Linked DNA regions of Homo sapiens: region 2 is linked to region 1. Evidence: promoter capture Hi-C in human tissues and cell types (Jung and others, 2019). All regions are on one chromosome and are shown on one strand. Each heading gives the region's core, a stretch centred on a gene start or on the middle of the fragment in contact. The rest is flanking DNA. Distances are from core to core; before and after follow the strand shown.

Region 1 (6,241 bases), core at 3,151-5,650:
GATCTTTTACACTCAAAAAATGCGTACTTCAAAGAGTTGCAGTATCCTTCCTTCAAACACTGCCGAGGTGATTTTCCTTCCTATGACAGACACATAAAACAATATAAACACCTTGGAAATTTTCTCACAAAGTACAAAATAATTGTCCTTCTGAAAATAGTCCTTTTTAAAAGTGTTAAAGGAGGAAAATAGAAAGTTATGTAGGAAATAGTTCTTAATTCATTTGGGCTATTGGTGCCTAAAGAATGAAAAAAAAATTGTAAAGTAACTTGGGAACTTTAAGGACACTGTTGAATTCTTGAAAACACTGGTTTCTATTGGATACTTTTCCTTAAACTGTTTATATAAAAATCTAGAAAGGGTTATCTTCATTTCCTTATGGGTGAAATGTGTGAACTGGGTACCCTAAAATCAGAATATTTTTAGTGTTGGCACGAAACACTTCACAAAGATATTAACAAGGCAGGCTGGAATACTACTTAAATAGAAACATGTGGCCCATTCATGCACCAGAAAAAATATAACCCAAAGCTCATCTGCTCTGCATAATCAGGGATTTTCCCTCAAGCAGATTTTGACTCTACAGCCGCATCACTGCAGCCACTCCCCAGAACCTTTATGTTGCAAGTGCCAGGCACGCTCTGCCAGTTTTTCCTATGAAAAGCTACAGGGTACTATGTCTGTGGTATTCCTGTTCCCCAGGAGTCTTGGCCACCTTCCAGTCTGTATGTCTGCCTGGGTCCTAGATATCAAATGTCATCTACCTCAGTGACTCTCAAAAGTGGATAAGAGTAGCAGGTTTCCTTCCTCTCCAAACTCTGCAATTCTGCTGGTGGGATGTGTTGCCCACATGAACGACGTGGAGGCAGACAAAAGAAGACTAACCATATAAAAGGTTATAACTATAGTTTATAAGCTGATGCCTCTTCAAACTGTATCTAAGATGCTACCTTTTTCAAAAGCTTTCAACCTATATTGTCAACTGCCTGGGGTAAAGATCCATCTAGATACACTAAAGCTAAGAGACAGTCATTCGTTATCCACTCCACCCCAAATAACAGACTGCTAGCTGTCTGCTCTTCCTTTTTATCCAGCATATGGCTGGGTGAGATCTCCTAGACGCCCTTGCATCTAGCTGTGGTCCTGTGACTAAGTTCTAGCCACTGGAATGTGTGGGAAACAGGTGTAGAACTTCTGGGTTGGTCCTTAAAGAGGCTTGCCCCTTTCCTCACTTCACTCCATAAGGTTGCCGGGCCTGATGATGTGGAAGCAAACCAGTCTTGGACCATGAATATGAGAGTAACACCCTACTTGCTATATTTTCCTATTTTCACAGCACAGAGTCACAAGATCAACAGTGTCTGCGTTCATGGAAGACTGAGGGAAATGACTAGGCCCTGATTATAGGCACAAGGACAAAAGAGAAAGTTCTCTATCTCGTTTAAGCCACTATTATTCTGGGTCTCTGTAACATGCACTTGAATCTATATTCTAACTAATACACTCCCAAGCTTTTTTGCCTTCTGAGGTCAAGATCAGTCAGTGCTCTCAAACATGGCTGTGCCCAAAACCAACCTAGGAAAGAAACTTTTAACTTATTGGGGGTAGGGTGAGGGCAGCAGTGGAATCTGTACTTTTAAAAAGCCACACCACTTCTAGGTGATTCTGATGAAGAGTCAGTGGATCTGGAAGCTGTTAGTGGAGACGAAGATACCCTATGATGAGTGAAGTTCCTCTGGCAGAGTTTCATTGTCCTGATCATCCAGGAGTCATTAAATCCTAAGAAGTCTCTTCAAGAGATGCCTTTTGAATCTGCTTTTTCCCTGCTTTCCTCCAGCCCCACTGGAATTTACATCCTTACCATTACCCTGAGTTTCTCTGAGGCCCTCTAACTCCTTGACAGTCTCCCAAAGCAGCACCTAGAACTAAATACATGTTTATGTTGAATTCCTCCCTAGAGCGAGGTGCTGCAGGTTTCAGGTGGGTTAAAGACTGGCAAGAAGAGACTACAGCACCAACCTGCCATAGGATCAGATTAACCTTTTTATTCAAGAACTTAAGAAATCAAAAATTTCCATCATAATTAAGGTTGCCACACAGAGCAAGCACAGACCTCAGCAGAGCTTTCCTTGGTCTTTCAGAGTCCCCAGTGAGGAGCAGTGGGCAGTAGCTGCCAACAGATTGTAGGAGATTGTTCTGGACCTGCAAACCTCCTCACTATTGCCCTTTTACAATCCAGCTGAAGTCAGCATTCAGAATGAATTTAACACAAACTGTATACGAACTTCCATCTAAAGAACTGCTTATAAGCATCACGTTTTCTGGCTGACCAAACTGAGCACTGGTAAGGCCACATATTCAATGGCGGGAAAAGCAAAGTCTGTACCAGCTGTCCCAACCATAATCTCTGCCTACAGCATTCTAGCCAAACAGCTCCGCTTTCTATACTGGAGAGACCATGTTCCATTCATCAGTATTTGTTCCCTGAACTGGAGCCTGGCGCTCCGTACATGTTTGCTGTATCAACCGCTGCAGAAAGCCAGCTTGGAATTCTCTGTGCTGCTGCTATTGTCCTCCACTTGGAGTTTCTTTCCTCAGTCCTACTCAGTGTACTTTCTTCCCTTGACTACTCATCAACATGGCCTTCCGATGCTGAACGTCTGGATAAAATCCAGTCTCCTCACTCTGACACACATACAGGCCTTCACACCTGGCTGCAACCTTCCCCTCAGGCCTTCTGTCGCATTCCCCTATGGCAGGACACTAGCTCCTCTGCGCCCTCCCACATCTCCCTGCCTCTGCACTTGCTGTTCTTTCAGATTTTCCCCACAACCACAACAGTTCCCACTCCTTTACTTGATAAACTACTACTCAACTTTTAAGACTCAGCTCAAATGTCATCTCAGAAGATTCCAAATTCTGAAGCAAAATCAGACGCTCTCCCTTGGGCTAACGCATTTTTCTCCTCAAGATCTAGTCATTAAACACATGTTTAATAAATGCTTACAGTCTTATGGCAGGAATTTAGACCCTTAGATGTCTATTTCTCCCATGACACCAAGCTTACATGGGTAGTGACTGTTACTGATTCATCTTCGTTATCACCAGTGTCAGGTACCATGCCTGCCACTTAAGAGGCATTTACCAGGAGCTGGCTGAACGGCAGCACCAGTGAGTAAGGGGCAGAAGGGACACAGCCCTGGACAGGGGAGCCTGAAAACAACGGTACTTCAGTTTCCTCATTTATATAAGGAAGTTGGGCGAGATAATCTCTTAAATTTATAATAACTCAAGTTTTACTAGACATTGGGAGGCGAGAATGGCTGACTGCTAAAATCAGTGAACCAAACAAATTGTGACTCGGTAGAAACACTGGTACAGTCTTACAGTGGATGTCCATTTGGGGGTAATCTTTTCTCTGAAATAACAGCAACTTTCTGAAACTACATCCCCCAATGCAAAGACAATTGCACACAATTGAATGCCCTCTCGTCGGGCCTCTGCAATTGGAAAAGGCACTTGTGCTTTACTTGAGCTCTAATCCAGAACTCAGGTCCACTGTGAACCTCACTACATGTTTCAGTGCATTCCAAGAGGGTGCTGAGGAGACCTGTGTCTGTAGCCGGGGAGTGAAGGAAGAGTGTAGGGGAAGCAAGATACGAAATCGTGAAAATATGGAGTTGCCTTATTTTTACAACTTAACATCCAAGAATGCAGAGAACTGTAACTCAGAAACAAATTCACATCAACACAAGTCAAACTGAGCACACATTGTCACAACTGAACAGGCAGGAGACACTACTGGCCAGGGCAGTGTACCAGGTTTACGCAACTCTCTGGAATCATTAATTCTACAGATTATCATTTCTAGGCAGGCAAGAAACCTGGCTTATTCTCCTTTATGTCTCCAAAGCCTAGTAGAGTGCTAGCATTCAATAAAGGCTTCGTGAACTGAAATGGGTTAACCTTTACAAAAACCCGACAGGGTGCGTTTATCGTTATCTCCGATTTAACCCCACAGGGAACTGGGGCTCCGACAGCTCAGTGGATCTGCGCACGTTCAGTGAGCCCGAGCTGTGACCTACGCCCGGGATGGTTAACTCCAACCGCCGCCGCGGGCGACCCGCTGCCCTCCGCCGAGCCAGGCCTGCCTGGGACAGGGGTCGTCACCACCGGGAGCGCCCGGCCGCGCTACCTGGACCACACAGTCCGACTGCAGCAGACACGCGCCCAGGTCCTCCTTCAGGCCCGCGCACGCGCCGCCCTGCGGCTTGTCCTCATAATACTTAGGCATGACGGCGCTTCCCCTCCGATGCGGACGCGACTTTCTCCCACCGCAACACTTGCAACCGGGTCGGGAGCGAGCGAGGCCCCAGTCTCAGGGGACCGGAAGCCAGCGGCAACAACTTCCGGCGGGCCGCGGCGGTAGGGCCGAGGACTACGGGGGCCGAGAGGTGGCGCGTCCGCGGCGGAAGTCGGTTCCCGTGACGCGGCGCGCCCCAAGGGCCGGCTCCGTTGAGGGAAGGGAAGCCCGCCCGGTGGCGGCTGGGGTCGGCTGCTGGGAGGAGGTGGTGGGCTGGTTCGGACGTGGGTCGAGGCTGTAGCAGGACTCCAGGTGAGGCCTGAGGACCACTCTGCCCTCCCGCGGCCCGGGCTCGCGCCGGGGGCCATTTAATCCCGACAGCTTGCGGCCTGACGTCGCTGCGGCCTGGCAGTGACCATGTCGGCGTCCGGCCCCTCGGCCGGCGATAGAGTTGCGGCTAAAATGAAAGGACGCCCAGTTACATTTGCATCGTAGATAAAGAAAGAGCATTTAGTATAAGCATGTCCGAAATGTTGCGTGGGATGTAGGCATACTAAAACCTTATTCGTGGCCTGTCTGAAATCCAAATGGAGCTGGGTATTCTGTGTTTTTATTTGCTAAATCTGGCAGCCGTACCCGCGGCCCCGGGCAGGGAGGGAGCAGCTGGGCTCGGCCAGACCCTGCCGGCGTCTGGGGGGCCTGCGAAGTGGAGGGGAGACGGGCAGCCGGGCAGTGGCCGGCGTTCCCCGGAGCTCGGACCGGTTGGATTGGACTCCGACGCTACCGCTCCCTCTGCTGAACTATTCCGGATGTAAAACACTAGGGATCGGAGTTTTTCTTGGTTTTTTAATCTCATTCTAGTGACCGAGAAGCTTGCTGGCAGTGCGCTGATGGATCTGTGTGAATAGGCCATTTATTTGACCTCTTCAGTAACACTGTTCTAACCGGCTGAAACTGCTTTCTTAGGCATTTTCTTAAAAGCTTGGTGGTTAAGAGCACGGAATTTCGAGTCAGATTTCCAATCTTGGCTCTATCACTATCCTCGGAGTCATGGGGCAGTCACATCATCCCTGTCTCTGTAATGGTAGCTGCCCCTGGATAAGTGTTATTAGGTGATTCAGAAGGGTGGGCTGTTGCCCTTGCCTGAGGTTGCAGTCTGCGGTTCCCAAGCCCCAAGACCCGCCTCAGAACTAACTGCATTTGCTTTTGACTCCTGGCCTTTCTCTAGGGTTGGGAAGAACATGGAAAGTGACCTCCCTGCCAAATAACTCAGAAGAGGAGTGTCGGTAGCCAAATGTTTCTTCAGAATACGTGTAAAAGAAATGTTTTTCTTCCATCTAGGAAGATGTTACCGAGTACTTCAGTGAATTCCTTAGTGCAGGGGAACGGAGTCTTGAATTCCAGGGATGCGGCAAGACACACAGCCGGAGCGAAACGCTACAAATATCTGAGAAGGCTTTTCCGCTTTCGGCAAATGGACTTTGAATTTGCTGCCTGGCAGATGCTCTACCTGTTCACATCCCCACAGAGAGTTTACAGAAATTTTCATTATCGAAAACAGACGAAGGACCAGTGGGCCAGAGATGACCCTGCTTTCTTGGTCCTGTTAAGTATCTGGCTCTGTGGTAAGTGTGTTTATCTGAGATAGAATTGAACGCTGAGTGTTTCTGATTAGATTTTTTGTTATAAATGTGTTGTGGGTCAGAATCTGGAAATATTGGAAACTATTTCTCCTTTTTACTGAAGCCTCAAAAAATCTCACAGGAAAGAAAGTTGTAGTCTTGGTTCTACAGGTCCCAAGCAGATGCCAGAGTAAACTGTTACCCTAGGACATTGAAAAGCAGGGGACAAGATTCACTCCATATCTTTTTAAGTACTTGAATCGGTACCCAAATGTCAGCTGACTGTGAATAGGAATATGAAACTGGAAATTGCATT
Region 2 (5,601 bases), core at 1,339-3,838, 320 kb after region 1:
CCAGCTACTCGAGAGGCTGACGCAGGCCCACAAAATTCATTCAGTCATTTCTGTTCTAGAATGTGGTACCAGAGAAGCCCCTCGCACCAGCACACCTCAACTCAAAGACCTGTTTTGGCTCACAAAGGCTGTGAAGAAAACAAGATAACACTGGCCAAGCCTCACAAAGCAAGTGACTCAAACCTTCAAAATGCTTGTATTTGTCTATAAAAATGCCATTTTCAACCAGAGAGCATACTGGAAGCACTAACACATGATAATTTCAGAATGTGATTTCCAATGGAGCTTGTAGCTGACACCCAGCAACCATCCAAAACTACATGGAATTCGGTTCCCGTAGAAATGATCACAGCTCAGAGACCGAATCACCCAGCCCCATGGAGAGGTGTGGCCATTTGACTCAGACCTTCAAGGGAGTGGGTCTGACCCCTGAAAACACCCCATTTCTTCTCCCTCCTCACCTCCACTGGCCAAGCTAGTGCTGCAGATTCAAAGTCACAAATCTTCCATGCAGAAAAGATCCACAAAAAAGTTCTTAATACCCCTCCTTAGGGAACAAAGGTCAATAATTAAGGTATTAAAGCAAGATCATAGAAACTCCGGAGCCAGGAGGGAGGTGTTAAACCCAGGTTAGAAAGCAGGCAAAGAGTGGAGATGGGGCTTCAGAGTGCTTGCGGTATTTCCCATGCCGCCTGCACAGAAGGGAGAGAACCCGAGAGCCACGGTCTGGGCCGATGCCCTTGGACCTGGTGTGGCCCCTGTGCCCACCGCACCTACTCCCTTACCTGTCTGGTGCAGACCTTGTGTGTAGTCGCAGAGTTGTAATCAGACCAAGAGCCCAGAGAGCAGCCCAGTATGCCTCAGACTCCAAGCAGCATCTACAGTGGGACGGGGGAGCCGCCTCTCTGGTCATGTCTCTGTCCTGAGGAGCCAGGGGAAGAAACCATCCCTGAGCACACAGTTCAGTGTCTGTGGACCTGAAGTGAGTGTAAGCAAAGCTTCGCGAACCTCTACAGACCCACACCTGGTCCCAGAATGCCCCAGGCACGGCAGGCTCCCCCATCTGGATGGGATGATGGCTTCACAAAACTATGCCCAATCTCAAAACCCATTCTCAGGGACGAGTTTAGTGTCTTCAATAAGGGGCATTTGTCAAATTGTTTGGGAACATTCAATTTTGAAGAAAAAAACAACAAACGCAATGGGTGAATCTCATAGGATATGTCAAGTAGAGATAAATAGGAAGTAGAGCAGGTGTATATCAAACAGAGGAGGAGATACGAGCTCTAAGACACCTAGTATTCATGAAGCACCACATGGACCCAAGGCAGCTGGGCAGCAAAGACTCACGATACATTCGACATGGAAAAGGTGCTCGATACCACGATACATTTGTATGCACGGGACCAGTTACCCAGAGGAACCTGATATTCCCTCAAAATTCGCTTCCCCACTGGTGACCCAATGCTGGTCCTCTGAATCCAAGGCTGTTCAACACACTCACTAGTGAGCCCAGACGTGGCAGGGCAGAACCATCCCTGTGTCTCTCCAACACGACGGGGCGTATGTCTTGGCCCAGGGCACCTCCCATCCGTGGCCCCCATGCAAGTGCTTCAAGTCAGGTCCTTCTCCTCACACATTAGTGGGGAAGGCGGATGCTGCAGAGCAAGACAGGACACACGGATGCTTTCCAGCTACCACATCTCCGTCCCCACCCTCTGTACCGTGTCCCCTACCCCATCCCCATCCCCACCCTCTGTACCGTGTCCCCTACCCCATCCCCGTCCCCACCCTCTGTACCGTGTCCCCTACCCCATCCCCGTCCCCACCCTCTGTACCGTGTCCCCTACCCCATCCCCGTCCCCACCCTCTGTACCGTGTCCCCTACCCCATCCCCGTCCCCACCCTCTGTCCTGTGTCCCCTACTCCATCCCCATCCCCACCCTCTGTCCTGTGTCCCCTACTGCATCTCTGACCCCACCCTATCCTACCTATATCACCTACCCCATCTCTGTCCCACCCCTGTCCTGTGTCACCTACCCCTCTTCCGTCCCCTCGCTTCTCCCTGTGTGTTCTAAATTGCGTCAAGGTTGTTCCCCACATGACAGCTTCCACCAGCAGCTGTGCTCAGGAGCACTGTGTATGGCAGTTATGCTCATTTTCCTTAAATGCCATCAGATCTCAGTTATGGAAGGACCCTTTATTGCTTTAGGGAACATTATTAGTAGGGGTCCTAACTGGTAGTTATAACAAATGCCCTTTAACCGTCTTACAAGAAAGACAATAAGAGAGTAATACCTATAAATAATTTATGGAGCATTTTCTATGTTTGTCATACAGCACCTCATGTAATGCTCATGTATGTGTGTGTGTGTGTGTGTGTGTCTACCACCCCCCCACCCCATCTAAGGGGTGACTGAGGTTGCAGGACTTCTAAGTGGCACAGCAGAAACCAGAGCCTGGGCTGGGCATGGTGGCTTACGCCTGTAATCCCAGCACTTCGGGAGGCCATGGTGGGTGGATCACTTGAGGTCAGGAGATCGAGACCAGCCTGGCTAACATGGAGAAACCTCGTCTCTACTAAAAATACAAAAATTTGCCAGGTGTGGTGACAGGCACCTGTAATCCCAGCTACTCAGGAGGCTGAGGCAAGAGAATCCCTTGAACCCAGGAGGCAGAGGTTGCAGTGAGCAGAGATCGCGCCACTGCACTCCAGCCTGGGCGACAGAGCAAGACTCCATCTCAAAAAAAAAAAAAAAAAAAAAGACACTAGAGCCTGACTCCCCTGACCTTGACTGGACCAACTGCTTTAAAAAGAAGGCAACCTCTCTGACATTTTCTCCTCCCACATATGGGGCAGTGTTTCCGAGAGTAGTTTCTTGGAAACTGCACACCCCGCAGCTAATGGTTCTGGTGCTTCCCACAGACATGAGAATTTGAGGGCAGAAACCATGGAGAGACTGGTGTATGGACCTCAGAGGTTAAGGCAAATATTTCTGGAAGTTCTTCAGCTACACACAGTTAAAAACCAGCCCCACACACCACAGCCAGGAGAAGGCCTGAGCAAATAAATACCTTTCCATCTGCACTTTTCAAAACGAACTTCCATAATTTCCTTTCACAGATACCCAGATCATAAGAAAAATGTCTGAGAATCCTTCCTACCAGCAGTCTCCTCCAGAATGGTATCTGAGCCTGTGAAAAGCTGGTGGCTGACGCTGCTCAGGAGGTGCCCTGTTACATCACATGCCTGTCTTATCATTTCCCATCATTTCACTGCTAAATTCACTGGGCACCGACAGAAACAGCATCTCTAGTTCATTATCCACTTGGCTCAGGATTATGGGTTAGACCCCCTTAAAAGCAATACAAATATCTTCAAGGTAATTTGTCAAAATCATAAATGTGTCTTAAGGACTCTTAATCTGACCTAAAGTTTTGAAGTTATTTTCCAGACACAGAGATCTAGAAAGAGCATTATTTGATGAGAATTCTCCTGATTTCCGTTCAGTTTGGGGAAAACAGAAGGATTTTGAACGCTGGCTGTCTGTGTTGTCCTACCCACAGGTGACACCAGCAGTACCGGTGTTTGCAGGTATCTAGACAACAGAAGAGATCGGCGGGACACCAGCCAGCATCAAGCCACAGGTGGGCCTGTGAACACCAGGCCGGGCCGGCCTGTCTCCCTTTCAAAGGCAGTTCTCTTGCATCTCACATCCATGTGGCCAAGTTGTTACTTTAAGTTCCACCTCCTCCAAGAAGCTTCCCCTGATTACCTCCCCTTCCAAATCCAGTGTGAACTGAGTGTGAACTAAATCCAGGGCTCAGGCTTGCAGGTACAGGCTTGACAAGGGCTCATCTTATTCACCAGAAGCAGCAATTATGACTCGGACCTTTCCGGCTTGTAGTGAGTGCCAAGCACACAGGGGGTTGCTCTGATGATGAGGCAGCAACAGCATAAATAGGAACGGTGGTTTGGAAGACGCCCATCCCCATGACAGTGGGCCGGGCTGTGTACGCAGAAAGCCATTCAATCCCCGCAACGCCGCTGCCAGCTACTCCTTCCTTGCCTTCTCCCAGCCCTGACTGAAGTCTCCAGCAGCCCCGACGGCTCTCCCAGTCTTTTTCAGGTAATAAAAAGGCCTAGCACACTTTACCCAAGACAGTGGTGAATACAGAGATATTTTAAACTTCCTTTTATGTATCAAGGGCAAAGCCTGGAAGCTGGAGCCTAGAGCTCTCCCCAAAGCCATGATGTGCAGAGGACAGAAGACAGAACCTAAGAAACAGCCCTGCCCCACAGGTAGAAAAATGCCTTCTGGGTCTGGGACATGAACCCAGGCACTGAGCACCTACCGCTGTGCACCCCACCTGGAGGAGCAGGGGTGGGGCTGAGGGGGCGTTCTTGTCCTGCTTCCTGTGGGAACTCAGGGAAGGCCGAGCTCAGAACAGTAGAAATGGAGGCCTAGTACGGTTCCGCACAACCTGGGCGGGCTCCCAGGTGCCCAATAGGGGCCCAGAAGAGACCTCAGAGCATGGGGACCTCTGGGCCAATGGAAGAGCCAGGTCCCCGCTGTGGCTCACCCTGGGGACACCAGCTGGACAATGATGGAAATGTGAGCCGGAGGCTCCATGTGGAGGGGAAAGGGACTCACTGGGGCACCGCAAGAGGACCAGATGACCAGTCAGGGCCACTCCCCTCAAGCTCTGATGGGACTACAACCCTCTCCTGGTGCCCAGGGGTGACTTGTAGCGAAAAGGGGTCCCCGAGGAGTAACGTGGAAAGACTGAGAGACTGACTCCCACCAGGGACGAAGCTACCTTTAAGCTAAATAGTGACTGAAATAATACCATTGAATTAGGCTCTAGAAAAACAGAACCATGCACTGGGAACTGAGTATATGAAAAAGGGAACCAAGGGACTTCACTAGGGACAGCAAAATCAAGCTCACTTACACAAAATTTTGCACCTTTCCACAATAAACCCTGGGCAGGTTTCCACCCAGAGAGTCCACCTGCAACACAAGCAGTATTTATGTGCACAACAAGCAACTGCATGACAAGGCACGGAGCCAGCCTGCAGGGGAAGAGCCAGTGACTGCAAGGTAGCTAAGTCAAATCCAGGCCCACCAGGACATCACAGAAAACCCACCCTCCTGGAGGCCTGGTACCTTCACATCTATTCTCTCATTTAACCAAGAGCATCCCTGAGGGCTGGCCAGCTGAGTCCATTTCAGCTGCTATAACAAAATACCATAAACCGGGCAGCTCATAGACAACAGACATTTATTCCTTGCAGTTCCAGAGGCTGGAAGTCCAAGATCAAGGCACTGGCAGGTTGGGTGTCTGGTGGGGGCCCATTCCTCATAGAAGGCGCCTCCTCACAGTGTCCTCACATGGTGGAAGGGACGAGCGAGCTCCTTGCGCTTCTTTTATAAGGGCACCAAGCCCATTCATGACCTATCACTTCCCAAAGGCCTCATCTCTTAATACCATCACCTTGAGGATTAGGAATCCACATATGAATTTTTGGGGGGACACAAACATTCAAACCATAGCACTATCACTGCTCTCATTTCCCTGAATGGTGCACTGAGATTG

Evidence for each region. Contacts are between HindIII fragments. The study calls those that stand out against the background at their distance.
Region 2: a fragment that was not itself captured here is called in contact with the fragment with the promoter of COA5 in region 1 in 1 of the 25 tissues and cell types used here (dorsolateral prefrontal cortex).

The regions. Positions count from the first base shown.
Region 1 is chr2:98,604,112-98,610,352 of GRCh38, forward strand. It overlaps COA5 (cytochrome c oxidase assembly factor 5), which reads right to left and starts at 4,401. Exons shown (of 3, transcript NM_001008215.3): 1 at 4,196-4,401; 2 at 1-80. The coding sequence starts at 4,294. UNC50 (unc-50 inner nuclear membrane RNA binding protein) reads left to right here and starts at 4,478. Exons shown (of 6, transcript NM_014044.7): 1 at 4,478-4,615; 2 at 5,645-5,928. The coding sequence starts at 5,649. RefSeq lists an enhancer at 3,553-4,542 and a silencer at 4,606-4,705. The HindIII fragment of the contact is 3,715 bases long and covers 2,287-6,001 here.
Region 2 is chr2:98,928,581-98,934,181 of GRCh38, forward strand. All of the region lies in intron 1 of CRACDL (CRACD like), which reads right to left. Among named protein-coding and RNA genes, the nearest start is that of CRACDL, 4.8 kb to the right of the region's middle. The HindIII fragment of the contact is 5,395 bases long and covers 1-5,286 here.